Linked DNA regions of Homo sapiens: region 2 is linked to region 1. Evidence: promoter capture Hi-C in 16 types of primary human blood cells and fetal thymus (Javierre and others, 2016). All regions are on one chromosome and are shown on one strand. The core of a region is centred on a gene start or on the middle of the fragment in contact, and the rest is flanking DNA. Distances in the headings are between cores, read along the strand shown.

What was found. The method cuts DNA at HindIII sites, captures the fragments that hold promoters and counts their contacts. A CHiCAGO score of 5 or more calls a contact.
Region 2: a contact is called between a fragment that was not itself captured here and the fragment with the promoter of RTL5 in region 1, in 1 of 17 cell types (neutrophils). The highest score is 5.9, in neutrophils.

Annotation. Positions count from the first base shown.
Region 1 is chrX:72,130,647-72,134,327 of GRCh38, reverse strand. RTL5 (retrotransposon Gag like 5) reads left to right here and starts at 2,413. Exons shown (of 1, transcript NM_001405151.1): 1 at 2,413-3,681. The coding sequence starts at 2,788. NHSL2 (NHS like 2) reads right to left here. Exons shown (of 8, transcript NM_001013627.3): 2 at 2,094-2,249; 3 at 110-237. RefSeq lists silencers at 2,333-2,392, 2,553-2,622. The HindIII fragment of the contact is 11,603 bases long and covers 1-3,681 here.
Region 2 is chrX:72,237,475-72,245,432 of GRCh38, reverse strand. It overlaps ERCC6L (ERCC excision repair 6 like, spindle assembly checkpoint helicase), which reads left to right and starts at 6,406. Exons shown (of 2, transcript NM_017669.4): 1 at 6,406-6,589. The coding sequence starts at 6,522. It also overlaps a transcript of PIN4 not described here. RefSeq lists an enhancer at 6,475-6,624. The HindIII fragment of the contact is 2,377 bases long and covers 1,891-4,267 here.

The DNA of each region.
Region 1 (3,681 bases), core at 1,164-3,663:
CTGCTGGTGAGCAGGGCTGAGCAGCTTCCAGTGGGTAAAGTAAGCAGCTGGAGGTCTCTTGTCAGTGGGTGCATGCTGGCTCTCCCAGGTGGGGGATGAGGCAACTCACCATCAATATAAACTCCAGACGCCTGGCAGACTGGGGCCTTGGGTTGGGGGTGGGCTTAGTGGCCTCATCAGAAGAGCGGAAGGTCTGCCCCACAAGTCTGGCCTCCGAGTACTGTTCCTCATATTCTTCTGAAAAATAGCACAGTGGAGACACACACTCTAGGGTGCCATGGCCGAGCGCTGGGCCGGGGAAGGGCCATGAGCCAGGACTCCTGCTCTAGCTGCCAGGCCTGACTTGCATTTTCTTTAGGCTATTTCCAGGTGTTTGAGCCACTGGATTTGGAAATGGAAAAGTGCTTGCTTCCCAGGACCATGAGGATCGAGGAGAAGAGAAAGTCAATAAATTCATGCTGTGGTGGTTTGGGGACCAAGCCCTTATCTCAATGATCCCCACCTTGAGTGCTCAGTTACGAAAAGAGGCTCAGAATGCAGACACCTTTTGCTACTTTGGACTGCAAGTTCCTCTCTTTGAAGCCCTGCAGCTCTTAAGGTTTTCTGCGACCCTACCAAGGAAATGACCTGTGTGAAGCAAGAAGAGATTTACACCAGGAAGTCCAATCTGGAGTTCTTTCTTGGATGTCAAGAACTTTTACTTGAGCCTTTGTGGGCCGTGTTCCCTGCACCTTAGTCCCGCTGTAAGTGATGTCAGGTCTAGGAGGGCTAAGGTGAAGGAGAGGGAAGGAGGAGGTAACAGCATAAAAGAGGCAGAAGTTCAGCGGCATCATCAGTGAGTAAGGATGCACAAGATTTGAATAGGGTTGATTGAAGTGATGAATTTGATGAGAATACATGAAGAAAGTGAGAGTAGAGAAGGGACATTCATGCTGTATGTACACTGAACAAAGACTCAGAATCACAGAGATTTGGGGTTGCTCTTGGGGTTCTTTGGTCCAACGCCTCATTCTGTGCCCAGACTCCCTCCTCAGCAGCCCTTCTAGGTGTTTCTTCAGCCTCAGCGCACACACCTGCAGGGAAGGGGAGCTCCCTCCCTCCCAAGGCAGCTCATTTCTTCCACGGACAGTTGGGGCTGTCAGGTGTGTCAGAAAGTTCTTCCTTATCTGGAGGTGGAATGTGCCTCCTTCTGGGTTTCCACCCACTGGTCCTAATTCTGCCATGGTAGCAACACAGAGCACATCGACTCTTTTTCTGTGTGGCAAGTCCTTTGTTATCTGAACACAAGGCTCATGGTGTCCCTTGGCATCTTGCTTTTCCAAGGTCACCACTGCCCTGGTAGGGGGTGGGGGTTATGGCTGTCATCCTGTTGGTGGCCCATCAGCAGTTTTCTATTCGCCATTAGAGTTAACCTTTATTAGTATAGATAAAGGAGTGCTGACAAGACCTCTTTTCATGCTCAACATCCACTGAGCACCTCTTGGCAGGTGGGGAGGGAATCCAGCCTTGTGCCAGGTGCTTCTGGAAACCTAAGGGTAGCAAGATGTGATTCTTTACATCGAGAAGCTCAGGCTTGGTTAGGGGGGACAAAATAGGTGACCTCTGGGTGCTGTGTATTGGGCTTACTTTGGTGAGGCAGTAGCTATCCAGGGGTTATTGCAAGAGCAGAGTGAGTGAAGCCCAGAGTGGGAGATCCTGCAGATGCCCCCTTTGTCTTCTGGTGCCAGGATCCCAAAGGCATGGGCGATGTGGCAAGAGGGGGGCTGGAGGGAATGTAGGCCCACATTGTGGGAGTCTCCCACCCAGCTCTCGGTGAATGGCATAACTTATGGCCCTGCCTCAGTCTCTGTCCTTGTTTCCCCATGGGCTACTGAGCTGAAAAAAGGGGCTGGGGATGGGGGGAAACAGCCCTGGAAATAGCCTCTTTCAGAATCATTAGGCTGAAAGGTGAAAGCTGGAAACTGCTTTGTCGATTGTTTTTAAACTCTCTGTCTTTATCTTGCTGGTCCCTGTCCTCTTTCTTCTTTGCCTCCCTCCTGCCGCTGCGCATCTCGCTTCTGGGCTCCGGCCGCAGCCCCCCTCCCTCTCGGTACCTTGCAACAGGCTCTGGAGATTGAGCTGCGCCTCCCGAAGCAGCTCCTCTACACTCGGGGGCCTGCCCGAGGAGAGGAACACGTTCACTGGCTGTCGCCATGACGACCTCGAGTGGGCAGTCGCTGTCGCATTTTCCCGACCCGAGTTAGCTGCAGCTAGGGAAGGAGAGAGTCAGTGAGAGGCGCAGGCGAGCTGGAGGGGAGCGGCGCGCGGCGGCCAGTGGGCGCCCGCGGTTCCCCAAGGCCCGCCCCTGCGTGGGGTGGGGGGAGTGCGAGGCTGCGCTTAAAAGGCGGGGAATCGCCGGCCGCAAGATTTTTCCTCGACAGATCCTGCCGCAGTCCGCTCCCTCCCGCTCCGCTCGCCCCTGCCCGCCCGCCCGCCCGGTCGCGCGGTCGCCGCCGCCACCGTGTCGCCCGCATCCTCCGCCTGGCGCCTCCGGGCCCCGTGCCTCCGCCCGCCCTCTCCGGCCCCGGCGACGAGGTAACGCGCCCTGGGCCGAGCCGCCGGGCCCTCCGCCCAGAGCGCCGCCCTCCGAGCTCGCCCCGGTGGGTGTGGCCCGGCCTGGCCCGTGCCCCGCTGCCGCACTTCGGTCCCTCCCGAGCCCCGCCGCCGCATTTCGGCCTCCTCCGGCCGCCCGTAGTTCCAGTTCCCCTTTCCCCACCACGGAGCCCCAGGGCCCCTGGGCTTGTCGAGATGTCTGAGGCGTCAGGAAATCTCAACAGCCTCCGCATGGCGAATGTGGCCCTGCGCGAAGAATTAAATGCCCTTCGCGGGGAGAATGCCAATTTGGGCCTCCAGCTCGGGAGAGCCCTGGCCGAGGTTAATTCCTTGCGGGGCAATGTCTCCAGCTACATCCGCTGGCCAGTACCCATAGTGCCCGTCCTTGCGGAGGAGAACTTGGAGTTCGCGCTCAGTGAGATCGAAGTCATTCCCGGGGGAGAACTGCCCTTCTTGTGCCGGCCTCCCCCACGCGCGGAGCCCGACTGTATCTCGGATGATCTTTTGATTAACGTGATCCAGGATCGCAGCACCCCCGACGGGCCCGCTGACCCCCCTCTGCTGCCCATCCCGCCCCCGCCGGCGCTGCCTCCGCCCGCGTCAAAGGAACCGCCCCCGCAACCCCCTCTGGCACCGCTGGAGCGGCCTGAGATAGAGCCCTTTTCAGGAGACCCAGTCTACCTGGCTGAATTCCTGATGCAGCTAGAGACCTTCATAGCCGACCATGAGGTTCATTTCCCCGGGGGCGCCGAGCGGGTGGCCTTTCTGATCTCCTTTTTCACTGGCGAAGCCAAGGACTGGGCCATCTCGGTCACCCAGGAAGGAAGCCCCTTGCATGCCAACTTCCCGCGCTTCCTGGATGAAATCCGTAAGGAATTCTGTGGCCCCATCCCCCCACGTGTGGCTAAAAAGGCCATTCGCAAGCTCAAGCAGGGCCACTGTACCCTCGGCAGCTATGCAGATGCTTTTCAGTTCCTGGCCCAATTCTTGTCTTGGGATGACTGCCGCCTCCAAAACCAATTCCTCAAAGGCCTGTCGGAATTCTTCCGCAAAGAGCTCTTATGGTCAACAGAAATGGCCGACCTGGAT
Region 2 (7,958 bases), core at 1,830-4,329, 110 kb before region 1:
TTTGAGAGGCTGAGGCGGGAGGATCGCTTGAGCCCAGGAGCTGGAGAACAGCCTGGGCAACATAGCAAGACTCTGTCTCTACAAAGTATTAAAAAAATTAGGTGGATGTGGTGGCACATGTCTGTAGTCCTAGCTGCTAAAGAGGCTGAGGTTGGAGAATCGCTGGAGCCTGGAGGATCACTTGAGCTCAGGAGTCTGAGGTTACAGTGAGCCGAGATCACACCACTGCACTCCAGCCTGGGCAACAGAGTGAGACCCTGTCTCATAAATACATTATTACTGTTTCTAATCAATTTCATCTTTTTTCCTGCCCCAAACCCACTCTCGGCTCCTTTTTTTTTTTTTTTTTTTTTTTTTTTTTTTGACAGGATCTCACTCTGTCACTCGGGCTGGAGTACAGTGGTGTGACTCTGCTTACTGCAGCCTCGAACTCCTGGGCTCAAAAGATTCTCCCATCTCAGCCTCCCAAGTAGCTAGGACTACAGCACACACCACCACACACAGCTAATTTTTGTGTTTTTTGTCTGATGAATCATGTTGCCCAGGCTGGTCTCAAACTCCTGGGCTCAAGTGATCCTCCCACCTCGGCCTCCCAAAGTGCTGGCATTACAGGTGTGAGCCACCACACTTGGCCCCAAACCCACTTTTGATCTCCTTGTGCATGAATACTTCATTTGGTTATCAAAAACACTCTTCCATTCTCAGTCCCCAAGAGCAACATTTTGCTGGCACTCCCTCCTCATATGCAGGGAAGCCATGATGTGTGCTGGAAAAAACGCTGGGTTGGGATTGAAGGTACCTAGGTTTGAGTACTGTTTCTGTCACAGGTTCAGGGTCTGACCTTGGACTGGTCACTTCCTTCTTTCCCATTGGCAGTTCCCTTACCTGTGGCATTAGACTGGAGTCCAAAAAACCGTTTCAACTCAGCATTCTAGGCTTGCTCCAACCATCTTAGCCTGTTTAGTTTTCATACACATCAAGCCCTCTCCTGCCTCAGGGCCTTTGATCATGCTATTCCCTCTGCCTGAAATGCCCTTCCCTTCCCTTTTTGTTTGGTTAACTCCTCCCTACCCTTCAGCTCTTAGATCAAATGCTACTTCCTCAGAGAAACCTTTTCCAGCCCTCCAGATTGGGTCAGATACCTCATGGTATGCTGTCATAATTGCCTGTAGTTTTCCTTCTGAGACCTCTTCATGTCTGTAATTTTCCAAGTGTTTGTGTGATTATTGTTTCAAGTCCATCTTCACCATGGAACTTTAAGCTCTTTGATAGCAAGGACTTGTCTGTTTTTCTCACCACTCTACCCCCAGCACCTGGATCCTTACGTGACCATCTTGTAAAGGCTCAACACATATTTACTAAATAAATGAATAAGTAAATGGATGAATTAATCCTTTTCTTCACCTGTCAGCTGCTTTCTATATCTAACTAGCATCATGTTAAAGAGCAAAAAGTCGAAAGCCAGACTGCCTGGGTTTGGAATTCTGCTTCACCATTCACAAGCTGTGTAAACTTGTGTAAGTTATTCAATCTTTCTGTGCCTCAGTTTCCTCATCTGTAAAAGGAGGATGATAATAGTATACACCATCTAACAAGGTTGTTGTTAAGGATTAAAAGACAGTGCATGTAAAGTCCTTAGAACAAGGCCTGGCACTTCAGTGCTATCTAAGTAATAGCTATTGTTCTTATTCGGCCTCATCCATCTCTCCATTTATGCATTCTGAACCCTCCCACAAAGCCTCATTATCATATTTCCGGCCTGTGAGTGCGGATGACTCAGTGTAATTTGAAGATTAGGTTGAAAAGTTTTGTTTTTTAAAATTCTTATTATGGAAATGTTCAATCATACACAGAAGCAGAGAAGAGGATAATGAACCTCTGTAACAAGCTTCAACAATTATCAACATTTTGCCAATCTTTGTTCATCTGTACTCTCCTTTTTTTTCCCTCTGTACTGGAGTATTTTAATGTAAGTCCCAGATGTCATATCATTTTGTCTGAAAATACTCCAACTTGTATTTCTAACAGATGAGGACCTTAAAAAAAAAAACAGCAATACCATTATCACCCTTTTAAAATTAACAATAATTAGGGAGAGCTTTTTTTGTTTATTTTTTTCTGAGACAGAATTTTGCTCTTGTAGAGGCTGGAGTGCAATGGCATGATCTTGGCTCACTGCAACCTCCGCCTCCTGGCTTCAAGCCATTCTCCTGCCTCAGCCTCTCGAGTAGCTGAGATTACAGGCACCTACCATCATGGCCGGCTAATTTTTGTATTTTAGTAGAGATGGGGTTTCACCATGTTGGCCAGGCTGGTCTTGAACTCCACCCACCTCGACCTCCCAAAGTGCTGGCATTACAGATGTAAGCCACCGCACCCAGCCTAGGAAGAGCTTTTTCCTTTTCTTTTCTTTTCTTTTTGAGATGGAGTCACCCTCTGTCGCCCAGACTGGAGTGCAGTAGTGAGATCTTGGCTCACTGCAACCTCCGCCTCCTGGGTTCAAGCAATTCTCCTGCCTCAGCCTCCCAAGTAGCTGGGATTACAGGTACGTGCCATCACACCCGCTAATTTTTGTATTTTTAGTAGAAACGGGGTTTCACCATGTTGGTCAGGCTGGTCTCGAACTCCTGACCTTGTGATCCGCCCGCCTCGGCCTCCCCAAGTGCTGGGATTACAGGCGTGAGCCACTGAGCCCAGCTGGGAGAGCTTTATAAACCCCATTCCCTTGAGAGACGCTGGGGGAATGGGAGCCCTTGATTGGGGTAGATGCATAATGAGGAACAGCAGATAATTAATCGATGTAAAGTGTTTTGAATGGGGCCTGTCACATAAGAGGGATATAGTAGTAACTATTATTTTGACTCTCTTTGATTCTCTCCATTTACCCACTCAAAATCCTCCCAATCTCTCTCTTATTTTCAGGCTGTGAGCCTGGGTGACCATTTATAAAGGAGGACTAGGAGCCTGGGCTGGGGAGTTTCCTGGGTCATCAGAGCCCTGGGTTGAGACCTGGGACTCCAGAAGGCACCAAGAAGGGCCCAAGGGAAGCAGACTACAGGACCGAAGGGGAGGGGAGGAGCAGCCAGAGCTGGGGAGTTTAAAGGAGGAGCCCTACAGCTGTGTGAAAATGGGGCTTAGAAAATCCAATAGCCAAAGGGCAGGCAAGCCGAGTGTTGGTCCTTCCTTCCCGGTGATCAGGGCCTTTAGGCATCACTGCCAGCTGGGAAGCAGAGAGGAGGTAGCCGGGGTTCCTGAGGGAGTTCTCTTTAGCTTTTCTTCACAGCCCACAATGGGGCATGCCTACAACAACCACCAGGGGCCTGCTTTGCTTCATCTTCAGTTCTCAACAATTCCCCGGATATGAGCGATGATGGTGGACCCTGAGCCAAAGCACAACCAGACATGGCCTTCCCCAGACTCAAGATGAAGATTTTTGTGCTCTCATCTCTCTTTTCCTTTCTGCAGAATTCTCTCCTACATCTTCTCCCCTATTCTGCTCTTCTCATCCTACTCATCCTTTGGGTATCCAGGGCGCCTGGACTCTCAACTCATCCTTAGCTCCTTTGTGCTGCTATAATAAAATGCCATAGACTCAAACTCATATTTTTTTTTTTTGAGACGGAGTTTCGCTCTTGTTGCCCAGGCTGGAGTGCCAATGGCGTGATCTTGGCTCACCACAACCTCCGCCTCCCAGGTTCAAGTGATTCTCCTGCCTCAGCCTCCCAAGTAGCTGGGATTACAGGCATGTGCCACCATGCCCGGCTAATTTTGCATTTTTAGTAGAGACAGGGTTTCTCCGTCAGGCTGGTCTCGAACTCCCGACCTCAGATGATCTGCCCGCCTCAGCCTCCCAAAGGGCGGGATTACAGGCGTGAGCCTCCTCACCTGGCCATCAAACTCATAATTTATAAACAATAGAAATGTATTTATTATGGTTCTGGAGGCTGAAGAGTCCAAGATGAAGGTGCCAGCAGGATTGGTATCTGGTGAGGGCTGCTCTCTGCTTCCAAGATGGTGCCTTGTTGCTGCATCCTCTGGAGGGGAAGGAATAGTGTGTCCTTACATGGTAGGAAAGCAGAAGAGCAAAAAGGGCCTAAACTAGCTCCCTCCAGCCCTTTCATAAGGCACTAATTTATTCATGAAGTAGGATCCCTCATGACATTACTTGCTAAAAGGCCCCGCCTCTCAATGCCACCATGGTGGGGATTAAGTTTCAACACAAGAATTTTGAAGGACATTCAGACCATAGCACAGCCCAATCCAAGCTTGCCTCCAGGAAAAGATGTGATTCAAACACTTTAGCAGAGTAAACAAGTTCCTTCATAACCTGGCCTTCAACTGCCTCATCAACCTCATTTCCCGCCACTGCCCTCTTCTTTCCAGTGTGACACAGCGAAACGGCACAGATTTGTGTCCATATGGACCTAGTATTGAATTCTGGCTCTGCTGCTTCCTAGCTCAGGAAGCTTAGATGAAGTCAATTTATCTCTCTGAGCCTGTTTCCACATCTGAAAAATGTGGATAATAGTATACTAAAAGGCCTCTTAATAAAGGCCTTAAAGTCATACAAACCAGGAAAATAGCCCATGTTCTCCAAGATCCCCCACCTCCCCCCAACCCTTTTCTTTTTTTTGAGATGGAGTCTTGCTCTGTCGCCCAGGCTGGAGTGCAATGGCACGATCTCAGCTCACTGCAACGTCTGCCTCCTGGGTTCAAGCGATTCTTCCACCCCAGCCTCCCGAGAAGCTGGGATTACAGGCACCCGCCACCATGCCCAGCTAATTTTTGTAGAGACGGGGGTTTCACCATTTGGCCAGGCTGGTCTTGAACTCCTGACCTCAGGTGATCCGCCCGCCTCGGCCTCCCAAAGTGCTGGGATTACAGGTTCAGTGAGCCACTGAACCCGGCCTCCAACATTCCTTTTAACTCATAACGGTCTATAAATTTTATGAAAAGCTTAAAATTCTCTGGACATATGATGTATGACTGGGCCAATAGGTGAGTTTTCCAATACTGAATGCTAAATTAGTGTCTTGAGGAGTCATGTCTGTGTTCTTAACAGTATATGAACAAGGACAATTTTTGTTGGCCCACAACCTCCTATTTAGTGTCACCCAAGCAAGCCACTTAAACTCAATCACATTTCCTTAAGCTCTAGGCTCTGCCTTCTTTTTAGGCTCTGCATTTGAAAATGACTGTATCTTAGTTGGTGCTTCTGAAGAAATGATGACCACAGCACTACTTCTTTTTTTTTAAATTATTTTTGTCTTCCTTTTATTATACCAAGTATGTGAACCTAGTTACTTATTTCTTAAATAAGAACTTTAATTTTTTTTTTTTTTTTGAGATGGAGTCTTTCTCTGTCACCCAGGCTGGAGTGCAGTGGCATGATCTTGGCTCACTGCAGCCTCCACCTCCAGGGTTTGAGATTCTTGAAGACCCTTCTCTCTTTCTCTCTCTCTTTTTAAGAAAATAAATACAGCATAACGCCCTGTGGAGAAGAAAAAAATTTTTTTTAAAGAGACGGGAGTCTCACCATGTTGCCCAGGCTGGTCTCGAACTCCTAAGTGCAAGTGATCCTCCCACCTTAGCCTCCCAAAAGGCTAGGATAACAGGCGTGAGGCACTGCACCCAGCCTTTTTTTTTTTTTTTTTTTTTTTTGAGATGGAGTCTCGCTTTGCCACCCAGGCTGGAGTGCAGTGGTGCAATCCCGGCTCACTGCAACCTCCACCTCCTGGGTCCAAGCGATTCTCGTGCCTCAGCCACCCGAGTAGCTGGGACTGCGGGCGCCCGCCACCACGCCCGGCTAATTTTTTGTATTTTTAGTAGAGACGGGGTGTCACCATTTTAGCCAGGTTGGTCTCGAACTCCTGACCTCACGTGATCCGCCCGCCCCGGTCTCCCAAAGTGCTGGGATTACAGGCGTGAACCACCGCGTCTGGTCGCTTCTTCAATGTTAGTTTAAATCACAGGGACTATGCCTCCCAGGGTGTTTGAATTCAAAGCACGGTCAGTGCCAGGTACTGGCGATCAAGGAAGGGAAGATATCTGTGGATGCGGGGCAGGGTATGGTTGGGGGACGCAGGCGTTGGAGATCTCCAGGGGTCGCCGCAATGACTGGGATCATATCGGGCAGTCTCCTCCACTCACAATGATGGCACACGCACGCGCGAACGAATTGGCTGCAGCATGGTTTGAATTGGATTGAAACGCGAGGGATCACAGACTGAGGCAGCACACTCCGTGTCTCGAAGGCAGAGATCACCTTCTGCTTCCCGGCGCGCGTAGGCGCAGGCGCCCACCGTCATGGGCGGGGCTCAGGCGGAGGCGTCGCAGCGCGTGGTCGCGGATTGGCCGGCCGCGAGGCCGTCGGTTGGCTGTGTCCCTCTCCACGGCGCACAGAGCATGCGCGGGGCGGGAGTGAGCGAAATTCAAGCTCCAAACTCTAAGCTCCAAGCTCCAAGCTCCAAGCTCCAAGCTCCAAACTCCCGCCGGGGTAACTGGAACCCAATCCGAGGGTCATGGAGGCATCCCGAAGGTTTCCGGAAGCCGAGGCCTTGAGCCCAGAGCAGGCTGCTCATTACCTAAGGTATGTCTGGACCGCTGGGCGGGTCTAGCTAACCGACCTGGCCCAGGGTGGAGGTGGGGTGGCCCCCGGATCCTCCTGGGGACCCGAACTGTTGAGGCGGAGCCTTTTGAGACGCGCGCTCGCGCTCTTCTCGCAGTAGGGTGTGGGAGTCAGCTCTGGATGTTTGACCAGATTTCTAAAACCTGAGGAGACCCCGATGCCTCTTCTTTTGGGCAAATGACCCTCCAGTATGGTCTCCTTAAAAGCCAGAGGAGCCTTAATTAATCAAGCCCTTCTTGATTCTTTTCAGCTTATCAAGCCCTAAGTCTAGGGGATACAGAGATGAGTAAAACAAGGTCCCCGCCCCCAAATTGTTTGTAATCTAGTAGTGGAAACGGATCTGTAAAGCAATAATTACTAGGTTTGATAAGTGCTGTAAGAGGTATAATGTACGTGCAGGGCACAGTGTTGGCATAAAAGAGGGAATGGCCAACTACAAGGGTGGTCAGCTAAGGGATGGCGTGGCAAGAGGAGACATTTGAGCTAGGCGTTGAAAAATGAGTAAACATTCACCAGTTGGCTAAGGGTGGGGGGCGTGGTAATGTTGGGATGAGAATTTAAATTTTTTCTTAAATTGTGGTAAAGTACACATAACATAAATTTTATCTTTTTGTGCAGAAACTGGGTTTTATGAAAAATAAAGTTTATCATCCTAACCATTTTTAAATGTACAGTTCAGTAGTGTTGACTACATTCATATTGTTGTGCAGCCGTCCGTCATCTCCAGAACTTTTCTCATGTGGCAAAACTGAAACTACTCCCATTAAACAAACTCCCCATTTCCCCCTCCCTTCAGCCCCTAGCAACCATTATTCTGTCTCTGTGAATTTTACTGCTTTAATTTTTTTTGAGACAGGGTCTTGCTGTGTCGCCCAGACTGGAATTCAGTGGCCTGATCATAGTTCACTGCAGCCTCGAACTCCTGGGCTCAAGCAGTCCTCCTGCCCCAGCCTCCCTAGTAGCTGGGACTTAAGGTGGGTGCCACCATGTCCAGCCAATTTATTATTTTACTATTGTTGTTTTATATATATTTTTAGAGACAGGGTCTGGCTCTGTCACCCAGGCTGGAGTGCAGTGGCGCGATCTCTAACTCAGCTCACTGCAACTTCCATCCCCCGGGGCTCATGCGATCCTCCCACCTGTTTCCGGAGTAGCTGGGACCACAGGCGCACACCACCACACCCAGCTATTTTTTTTTTTTCTTTTTTTGATACAGTCTCGCTCTGTCACCCAGGCTGGAGTGCAGTGGCGCGGTCTGGGCTCACAGCAAGCTCCGCCTTCCGGGTTCACGCCATTCTCCTGCCTCAGCCTCCCGAGTAGCTGGGACTAC